2 separate regions of the Homo sapiens genome follow, and region 1 is linked to region 2. Evidence: promoter capture Hi-C in human tissues and cell types (Jung and others, 2019). All regions are on one chromosome and are shown on one strand. Each heading gives the region's core, a stretch centred on a gene start or on the middle of the fragment in contact. The rest is flanking DNA. Distances are from core to core; before and after follow the strand shown.

Evidence for each region. The method cuts DNA at HindIII sites, captures the fragments that hold promoters and counts their contacts. A contact is called where the count stands out against the background at its distance.
Region 1: a fragment that was not itself captured here is called in contact with the fragment with the promoter of LCMT1 in region 2 in 1 of the 25 tissues and cell types used here (mesenchymal stem cells).

What each region holds. Positions count from the first base shown.
Region 1 is chr16:24,323,850-24,328,911 of GRCh38, reverse strand. The region is part of intron 1 of CACNG3 (calcium voltage-gated channel auxiliary subunit gamma 3); the gene reads right to left. Among named protein-coding and RNA genes, the nearest start is that of CACNG3, 70 kb to the right of the region's middle. The HindIII fragment of the contact is 3,212 bases long and covers 962-4,173 here.
Region 2 is chr16:25,108,416-25,113,580 of GRCh38, reverse strand. It overlaps LCMT1 (leucine carboxyl methyltransferase 1), which reads right to left and starts at 1,839. Exons shown (of 11, transcript NM_016309.3): 1 at 1,585-1,839. The coding sequence starts at 1,697. LCMT1-AS1 (LCMT1 antisense RNA 1) reads left to right here and starts at 2,026. Exons shown (of 3, transcript NR_120306.1): 1 at 2,026-2,185. RefSeq lists enhancers at 1,532-1,691, 1,782-2,111, 1,889-2,416. The HindIII fragment of the contact is 11,844 bases long and covers 1-4,357 here.

The sequences.
Region 1 (5,062 bases), core at 1,318-3,817, 790 kb after region 2:
GTGATGAAGTCGGGGTGAGAGTGGAGGGCATCCCAGGTTATCAGAGGTGGACGCAGACGCATTTTGGAAGAGCAAGGAATGTAAATGGGCACACGATGCCCGCCTGTGGATGTGACTCTGTGTGGGTGCACTGGTGAGTACATGTCTTATGGCTGCCAGGCCTTTGCAGCTGATGCTCTTTCTGCCTGGACCACTTTCTCCCAGCCCTTCACGGGGCCGTCAGGTCCTCACCTCACTTGAACATCTCCAGTCACTTTCTTTGCTAAGCTTACGATGATCCGTGAGTATGCGAAATATCTTGTTTATATTTATTGCCTAGTTTATTTTCTGACTTCTTATTTCCTAGACTATAAGCACCACTGAATCCCAAATATCCTGCACCCAATCTGATACACAGTAGGTGCTTTATAACTGTGCCCTGAACATCAGACTGTCCTTTGTATATGTCTGCAGGTATCTTGGGCAACTTCTTGTTGGATGGTGACAAAAGTCCTTAACCTGGCCTACGAGATCCTCTGTGATGTGGCCCCAGCCCCTCTCCAGATCTTTCTCACCAAATTTCTGCTGCACAGGCTTTGTTTTATCTTTCCTGCCTCAGGGCCTTTGCACGAGCACCCTCAGCCTCAATTATTTCTCCCTCTCCATCCTGCATTTGAGTAATTTCTATCTGGGCTTCAGATCTTACCAAAAATATGTCCCCAGGCTGATGCCATCCAATAATCTGCCCTCACAGCACCACACCCTGTGCTTCTCTTTCAGGCACATATTACAAAGGATTAATTATGAGTTTAATGATGTGTCTGTTTATTCCTCTCTATTGTAAATCCCAAGAGCATCTCTGTCTTGCTCACCACTGTCTTCCCAGGACCTGGCACATAGTAGGTTGTTAAATAAACAAGTGGACAAATGAATGTATGGGATGAGTACTGCGTATTTCCTTCATGTCTGAATTGTTTTTACTTTGTTTGTTGTCTGAGACAAGGTCTTTCTGTGACACTCAGGAGTGCAGTGGCATGATCATAGCTCACTGCAGCCTCAAACTCCTGGGCTCAAGTGATTTTCCTGCCTCAGCCTCCCATGTAGCTGGGACTACAGTTGCTCACCACTATGCTCCATTACTGTTTTCATTTTTTGTAGAGATGTGGTCTCACTATGTTGCCCAGGCTGGCCTTGAACTCTTGGCCTCAAGCGATCCTCCTGTCTCAGCCCCCCAAAGCATTGGGATTACAGGCATGAGCCACTGCACCCGGCCTGTTTTTTTTGTTTTGTTTTGTTTTGTTTTTGTTTTTTTTGAGACAGGTTCTCACTATGTCACTGAGGCTGGAGTGCAGCGGTACAATCATAGCTCACTGCATCCTTTAACTCCTGAGCTCAAACGATCCCCCCAACCTCAGCCCCCCCATATATATATATATGTATATATTCATAGTATATGTGTGTGTGTGTGTGTGTGTGTATATATATATATATATACACACACACACACACATATATATATTCGTAGAAACAAGTTCTTATTTTGCCCAGGCTGCTTTCGAACTCCTGGTGAGGAGTTCGAAGTGAGGGCTCAAGTGATCCTCTCACTTTGCCCTCCCAAAGTGCTGGGATTACAGGCATCAGTCACAGCACCCAGCCTGGATGAACTGTCCTTTAAGCTTTGTTTATTGGCATCTCTTCACTGCCTGAGACTCTCCTTTTATTCCAGAGCCTCTCTGAGCCCAAGTCTTCTTTTCCTCTTCCTTCTCTCATTGCTATGGCTTTTTTTTTTTTTTTTTTTTTTTTTTTGGTTTGGAGCCCCTGCCTTGGCCACTCCTTAGAGACTTAGGACTCCACCTCTCTGCATGAGGAGGAAGCCAGGCTACCATCACATTTACCGCCACCTCCTTCATCCCCATCACCTGCTGCCATTAGCAGGGAGAGGCCAGCCTCTGTTTCTGGCCTGAGCCTCGAGCCTGGAGCCTCCAGTTAGCGTCATTAGCTAGACTGGTTCAGGATCAGGTGGCAGGGGAGCGAGATCATGGCGTGTTTCTCTGGTCAAGGGGCTAAGGTTACTGGTCTGTACCAGGCATCTGGAGGGAACATCTGTTCTAGCTGCCAGAGGAGCTTCCATTCTCCCTTCCACTGGTAAGGCTACCTTCATTCCACTGTAGGGAATGCCTTCTCTCCCTCTTCAGCCTGTGCAGAGAGTGAGGTGAGCATAGGGTGACTCCATTGTCAGTTTCAGAAGTGGGCATGTGATTCAGTCCTGGCCAATCAGAATTCTAAATTCTCCTGGCTACAGTGGTTGGCTAAGAGGGTGAGCACATGACCCAGATCTGGCCAATCAACATGTCTCACCACCTTGATTGGCGTGATTGGTTCAGGGGAGGGCAAGTGACCAAGTTTGTCCAGTGAAGATAGTCTTGGAACATTGGTTAGAAATGTTGAGAAAGAAAAATTTTGGCCGGGTGTGGTGGCTCATGCCTGTAATCCCAGCACTTTGGGAGGCCGAGGCGGGCGGATCACCTGAGGTCGGGAATTCGAGACCATCCTGACCAACATGGAGAAACCCTGTCTCTACTAAAAATACAAAATGAGCCGGGCCTACTGGCGCATGCCTGTAATCCCAGCTACTCGGGAGGCTGAGGGAGGAAAATTGCTTGAACCTAGGAGGCGGAGGTTGTGGTGAGCAGAGGTTGTGCCATTGCACTCTAGTCTGGGCAACAAGAGCGAAACTCCATCTCAAAAAAAAAAAAAAGAAAAAAGAAAAAACAAAAAAGAAAAATGTTATTTTCCATTGAGTGGCTAAGCTAGTGGGCTGGGGCTACAGTTGCCAAGCCCCCAACCCCCCCACGTTGGAGACAGCAAGCTTGAGGGTGAAATCAAGGCAGAGATTTCAGAATAGAGCTGAGAGGTGTTGACCATCTGAATCTTGCTAATATCATTTGAGTCCCTGGCTCCAGCCATGCTTGAAACAGGTAAACCTTGGGTATTTCAGTTCCATCAGCCAATAGCTTATGTGGCTGCTTACGCTTATTTGAAATGGATTTCTGTACTTTGCAACTGAGAGTCCTCACAAACTGAGAGTCCTCACCTGTTTGGAACAGCAGCACCTACCATTTATTAAGCTCTAACCATGTAATAGTCTCCCAGTCCCAGCTTTGCCTCCATGCCTGCTCTGCAAACCTGAGCAACTCACATTATTACCATTTGTGATCTTGGTTTCCACAGTTGTGAAAAGAAGCTCATAAACTCTACTTTTCCTACCTGTCGGGCTTGTTGTGAGCATCAAAGTGATGGGTATGAGGCGGCTCATAAACTGTGAATCACCAGCCCGTGCTGCATAACAGTACTGGGCACCTTCTCCCAGCCGCAGAGCTCGCTGGGGTTGGCGGGGCTTGCGCTCAGCAATGCATTCCAGCTGATGTACGCCAGCACTGGGGTCTGGCTCCTAGGACTTGGGAAAGGGAGCTCCCAGGGTCCCGAGTGTTTCTGATCTCAGGAGTGTGGGAGAATAGAGTGGGCTAAAGGTTGGTGGTGGGTGACTCTGCTGAATGTTAACTGACGTCCCCCTAACCCTTGTTCCCATGTACCTGATGATGTTTCTTTTGTCCCAGGGAATGAGAACATCTCAGCAGATGCTGTCATGGATCAATGATCCAGACCACATGTACCCACCTCTGCTGTCCCCCAGAATTTAGACACCCCTCAAGGGAAGGAATTGGCTAAGATTAAAGAATTGGCTGATATTAAATTCCTGCCCTCTTCCCCCAGTAGACACAGAACTCATAACATAAATTCATTCATTCATTTCACTCAGTAAATATCTGCCCTGTGCCTGGCATCTCTACAGGCACTGTGGCTCCGCAGGCATGACATAGAGCACTCTTGGTTCTTCAAAGGGGATGGGGAGGACAATGGAACAAATGACTTCCAACAGCAATCAGAGCTAAAAAGACCCTCAACATAAGGGGCTCAGAGTGACCCAGGGTGATGAGGCAGGGAGGAGGTCTTTGAGAGAGCTGTGTGGCCTGAGAGTTGAAAGCGGAAAGAAACAGCCCCCTTGCAAATCAGGGCAAGCAGTGCAGGCAGAGGGAAGAGGAAGGGCTGGCCTTGTAGTAGCATAAGCTGGGGCATGGAGGAACAGAAGAGACCCAGTAGGGAACAGCAGAGTAGAGGGAGAAGGAGAGAAAAGCTGAGAGAAGGCTGAGACCACAGGAGGGAGAGCACATGGGCCACTGAGGAGCATTTATTCCAAGGGCAATGGGGCTTTCAGGGATTAAGCAGGAGAGTGATATGATAGGATATGCATTTTGTAAATGGTCCCTCAGGCTGCCAGATGGAGAATGATCTGGGGTGGGGGCAATGGTGATTTGAGCTAAACTGGCAGCTGGGGAAGTGGGAGAAGCTGTTGCCTTTGGCTACGATGATATTTTTGAAGGCAGAGCCAATGAGACTTGGTGTGTTGGGTCTGGGGAGTGGGGGAAACAGGCACCAGTGATGTCTATGCTTTTTGCCTGTGTATGGCTGGGGTAAGTAGTGGTACTAGGAGATGAGGTGGAAAAACTAGGCAAGAGGCAGATTTAGCAAGGAAATTAAGAAATGAAGTTCACTTGCAGAAAAATAGTTATATTCACACACACCTGGGTTTGTGGGCTGAATTCTGTATCCACTAGAAATACAAGCAAGGCAGATGCGGGTTCAAATCCCAGATCCACCACTTGCTGTGTGACATTGGGACCTTTACCTTTATTGAACTTCAGCTTTTTATACACAGGGATGGCAGTGTCTTTCTAACAGGCTTTATTGTTGTCTGGCTCTTTGAGAATTCAATAAAAAATGTATATAAGAAATCTAGTGGCTGGGTACATTGTCTCACGTCTGTAATCCCAACACTTTAGGAGGCCGAGGCAGGCAGATCAGGAGTTCCTGAGGTCAGGAATTCGAGACCAGCCTGGTCAACATGGTGAAACCCCATCTCAACTAAAAATAAACAAATTAGCCTGGTGTGGTGGTGTGCACCTGTAATCCCAGCTCATCGGGAGACTGAGGCAGAAGAATCGCTTGAACCTGGGAGGTGGAG
Region 2 (5,165 bases), core at 590-3,089:
AATCAATCACCACTTACATGGACTACATGCCAGACACTGCTCCAAGTGCTCTACTAATATTAAATATCATTTTTGTCCACACCCACCTATGATGCGTTATTATACTCCCCATTTTACAGATCAGGAAACTGAGCCACAGAAAAGTTTAGTAATTTCCCCGACTTTATACTGCCAGTAAGTGGCAACGCTCAGTTTGACAGAGTCTAGCTCCAGAATCCATGCTCTGAAAGTTTAGTCCCCAAGAACCTATAAAAAGTGCAAGGTTTAATCCAACACACTGGTTTTCCCCACTCTACAATCACTACGTGGCCTCAGCCTCCTTCTCCCACCTTTAAAGCATTTTTTGAGTTCCTCTAACAGTTCACACTCCTCTGAACACTCTCCTACAACTTTCCTATTTTTCAAGCCTTTTCTTCTCACTTTTTTTTTTTTTTTTTTTTGAGACATAGTCTCGCACTCTCATCCAGGTTGGAGTGCAATAGCGTGATCTTGGCTCACTGCAACCTCTGCCTCCCGGGTTCAAATGATTCTCCGGCCTCAGCCTCCCGAGTAGCTGGGATTACAGGCGCCCGCCACCACACCCAGCTAATATTTGTATTTTTAGTAGAGATGGGGTTTCACCATGTTGGCCAGGATGGTCTCGAACTCCTGACCTCGTGATCTGCCCACCTCGGCCTCCCAAAGTGCTGGGATTACAGGCGTGAACCACCGCGCCCAAACTCTTCTCACCTTAAACATCACTGACAAAATTACAAACTCTAATGGCACTGCCGTATTTGTCAGCACTCAACACAAAAAAATCATAATTATATATTTCATAGGTAATTATTTGCTTCCTGTCTCTCTTTTCCAACAAAGCTGTGAGTTCCAGTATGTCTGACACCATGTCTGTCTTGTTCTTGGTGTATTTCCACCATCGAATTCCTACTAACCACTGCAAAGTAAAGGCCTGGCACAAAGTAAGGTCTCAAAAAATTTTGTTGAATGAAAGAATAAATGGTGGACATTCAAGCCTCAAGCTTTCTCTTTCTCTGACACGTACCTCTGCTGGCTACGCCCCCATCCCCACCACCACACCCTTAACAGTGGAGACTTAGTGCGGTACTGGCTCTGCAAAGAGATATTACTTGGCTCTGGGTGGGTTATTTCCCCTCGTCATCCTGAGTTTCAGGTGCACAACAGGGATCACACCAACCCCCTAAAGAATGCAACCTACAAAAGAGAGAGAACCTACACCTCTCATCCTCGTAACCCATCGAGGCTGGAGCTACTATTTGCTTCATGTCTGTCTTTCCAGCAGCGTTTAGCTCCAAGAAGCCCAAGGCCTCGTCTGTCTGGCTCAGGGGCCTGCTCCCATCGACGATACCCAGGCTGGCCCCCTGCCTGGCTCACAGCAAAAGCTCAGAAACGATTCGTTAAATAAATGAAGCCCTGCTCCGTGCACTTCACAGGTGGGAAGCGAGGGTCGTGCGAGGCGGGGGCTGCATCCCTGCCAGCCTTGAGCGTATTCTTCAGATGCAGGCCCACCTCCCACCTAGGCCCGCGCCCCAGATGCCGGCCCCGAACCCCGCGCCCGACAGGCACCTCTTGCACAGGGAAGCATCTTCGCAGGTGCCGCGCACGCCCTCGTCGTCTGCGTCGCAGCTCGAGGTGGAACAGCAGGAGGTGATAGAGGATTCCCTCTGCCTAGTGGCCATGGGCGTGGAGGTTCCTGGGAGCTGTGTCCGCCAGGGACATGGAAGCGGGGTCGACGGGCGGCGGGGGACGGCGCGAGCCACAGGGAGAAAGCAACAGAAGAGGGTAGGGCCCTACCTGGCTCAGCTGGCGCGGCTCAGTGACGCCGCCCACGCCGGCTACCCCAGCAACCTCTCCGCTTATTGGCTCCTCTTCCGAGTCGCTCATTGAGCAATTCTCCTGCCCGCTCAGCCTACGAAGTTGCTCATTGGATAATTATTTTGGCACCGCCCACATAACCCGGAAATTTGACGATAGGAAAAAGAAACTAAACAGTAGGAGAGTATCGCAATCCTTTCTGGGAAGCGTAGTCTTAGGTGTCTGGAGAAGTCGCCCGGTTTCTGCTTGCTGGTCGCGAAATTTTATAGCTATAATTAACTCAGGGCGGAACAGCTAGCAGAATCCTCAGCGTTCGGGCAAAGGGCAGAGAATCCAGCCAGAAGCAACATGTGTAAGTTGTTACATTCAGTCCGGGCTCAGTGTCATTCAATTTTACAAAATTTTGTTGTGTGCTGACTCTGCCAGCGACTGTGCTGAGGGCTTTGCCCCCAAAATTGCCTTCGAAATGTAGTGAGGGGGGCGGGCGTAGTGGCTCACTCCTGTAATCCCACCACTGTGGGAAGCCGAGGCGGGCCGATCACCTGAGGTCAGGAGTTCGAGACCAGCCTGGCCAACATGGTGAAACACCGTTGTTACTAAAAGTACAAAAATTAGCCGGGCGTGGTGGCGGCCGCCTTAGTCCTGGCTACTCAGGAGGCTGAGGCAGGAGAATCGCTTGAACCCGGGAGGCGGAGGTTGCAGTAAGCCCATGTGGCGCCACTGCATTCCGTCCTGAGCGACAGAGCGAGACTCCGTCTCAAAAAAATAAATAAACAAATAAATAAAAGAAAGAAAGAAAAGAAATGTAGTGAGGGAAGTAGTGTGTGGAAAAGTAATACAATAGGAAGCCATGTAGCAGCGATCATAAATGAACTAGAGCTACCAGGTAGCAGCATCAATGGCTGAATCTCAGAAACACGATGTTCAGTGAAAGAAGGAAGTCTAACAACACTTTTGTAAAGTTCAAACCAAGTAAAACTAATGTTGTTTAGAGAAACGTACATATATGGTAAAATACTGTACAGAGAAGGCAAGACATGAGAAAAAAAAATAAAAAAGAATCAGGATATTGGTGATCTTTAGGGAGCCGGGAGGGTAGCACACAAGAGGGGGAGGGAGAGGCAGGGAAGGAGCACATAGACACATCCTCAGTTTCTCACGTGGGAGTGGGTTCACGTGTGTCTGTTTCATTATGAGGCATATTCAAGATGTTTTGGATTTATTTTGTACTAAATCTAGTACAAAATATATGTATAAATTCAAGATGTACTGGGGAAGTCGCCTGGTTTCTTGCTGGTGATGAAATTTTATAGCTATAATTAACTCAGGGCAGAACAACTAGCAGAATCCTCAGTGTTCGGGCGATTGGCAGAGAATCCAGCCAGAAGCAACCCTTGTAAGTTGTATATGTATAATAATGTTTAATATACATTATAAATTAAAAATGTCTTTGTATATTCCATTTTGTTATCTGTCAGTTGTTGGAAGCAGGAAACAGATATACTTTAAGAACTTTGAATTGCACTCATTTTTTTAAAAAGAAAATCAACAACAGAAACCCAGAATACACACCTTGGAGTGAGGTCAAATATCAAATGCTAGCTCAGTATTCTAATGGAGGCACAAGATCTCATTGATAGCCACAGTAGAAATGACAAGAGGGGAATGACTAAGGGTGGAGAGCTTTGCCAGGGGGAATGCTGATGGGATGAAATACACCATTTTCTTGGAGTGGTCCTTTGCCAAAAGGGTAATACAAACTATTGCACAAGCATCATCTCCCAGCTTAGCAGTGTCCACATTCCACGGGTGTTAGTGGATAGTAAGTGTTAACAGCAAGTACTATACGGTGTTAATCCCACAGGTCTGGACAGTGAGACTGGGGGTGACTGGAAGAAGGCGGAGGCAGATGGGTTTATACACTTTTGTTGTTGGATGAGCCTTTGATTCAAAATAGCTGGTGATTCAGAGGAATTTGGCCATCTTCCAGCTGACCTCCAGGGCCAGCTCATTCCATGTAAGTTCCTGGTTGAGGATCTGAAAGTTTATGACAGCGTGGAGTCTGGAGATTGCAAGCTTAGCCATCTCAGGCTAAATGATACCTTAATGCAAGAGACAATGCTGGGGTAGTCTTTGAGCCATATCCCAGCCAGAGAAAGTTCACTGCCAACTAGACTGCATCTTTTGACAAAGTCAGGAGAAGAGTTGTGGAAGTGTAAAAGCTCTTGGACATTAATATTGTGGGCCAAAAGTTAGGCATTCACCATGGAATCTCTCCCCAAAAGGCTACAATGGACAATTGTTGCTTTGGCTCTCCAGTATCTCTTTCTTCTATAAAAAATAGCTAGAGTGGGCTGGGCGCGGTGGCTCACACCTGTAATCCCAGCACTTTGGGAGTCCGAGGTGGGTGGATCACCTGAGGTCAAGAGTTTGAGATCAGCCTGGCCAACATGGTGAAACCTCGTCTCTACTAAAAATACAAAAATTAGCCAGGCATGGTGGCAGGCGCCTATAATCTCAGCTACTAGGGAGGTTGAGGCAGGAGAATCACTTGAACCCGGGAGGTGGAGGTTGCAGTGAGCTGAGATCGTGCCATTGAACTCCAGCTTAGGGGACAAGAGCAAAACTCCGTCTCAAAAAACAAACAAAAAGCTGGCATGGTGGCTCATGCCTGTAATCCCAGTACTTTGGGAGGCCGGGGCAAGTGGATCACCTGAGGTCAGAAGTTCGAGACCAGCCTGACCAACATGGTGAAACCCCATCTCTACTAAAAATAAAAATTAGCCAGGCATGATGGCGCATGCCTGTAATCCCAGCTACTCCGGAGGCTGAGGCAGGAGAATTGCCTGAACCCTGAAGGCAGGGGTTGTGGTGAGCCGAGATTGCGCTATTGTACTCCAGCCTGGGCAACAAGAGCGAAACTGTCTCCAAAAAAAAAAAAAAAAAGCTACAGCTTCTTATGGAAAACTAAGCTTCTCTCCTGGCCAGGCGTGGTGGCTCACACCTGTAATCCCAGTCACCGAGGCGGGATTTGGGAGGCCGAGGCGGGTGGATCATGAGGTCAGGAGTTCAAGACCAGCCTGGCCAACATGGTGAAACTCCATCTCTACTAAAAACACAAAAAATGGCTGGGCATGGTGGTGCGCGCCTGTAGTCCCAGCTACTCAGGAGGCTGAGGCAGAAGAATCGCTTAAACCCAGGAGGCAGAGGTTGCAGTGAGCCGAGATCGTGCCACTGCACTCCAACCTAGGCAACAAGAGCGAAAGTCTGTCTCGAAAAAAAGAAAAAGAAAAAGAAAAAAAAGCAAGGCTCCTTGCCTGACTCTAGGGGTG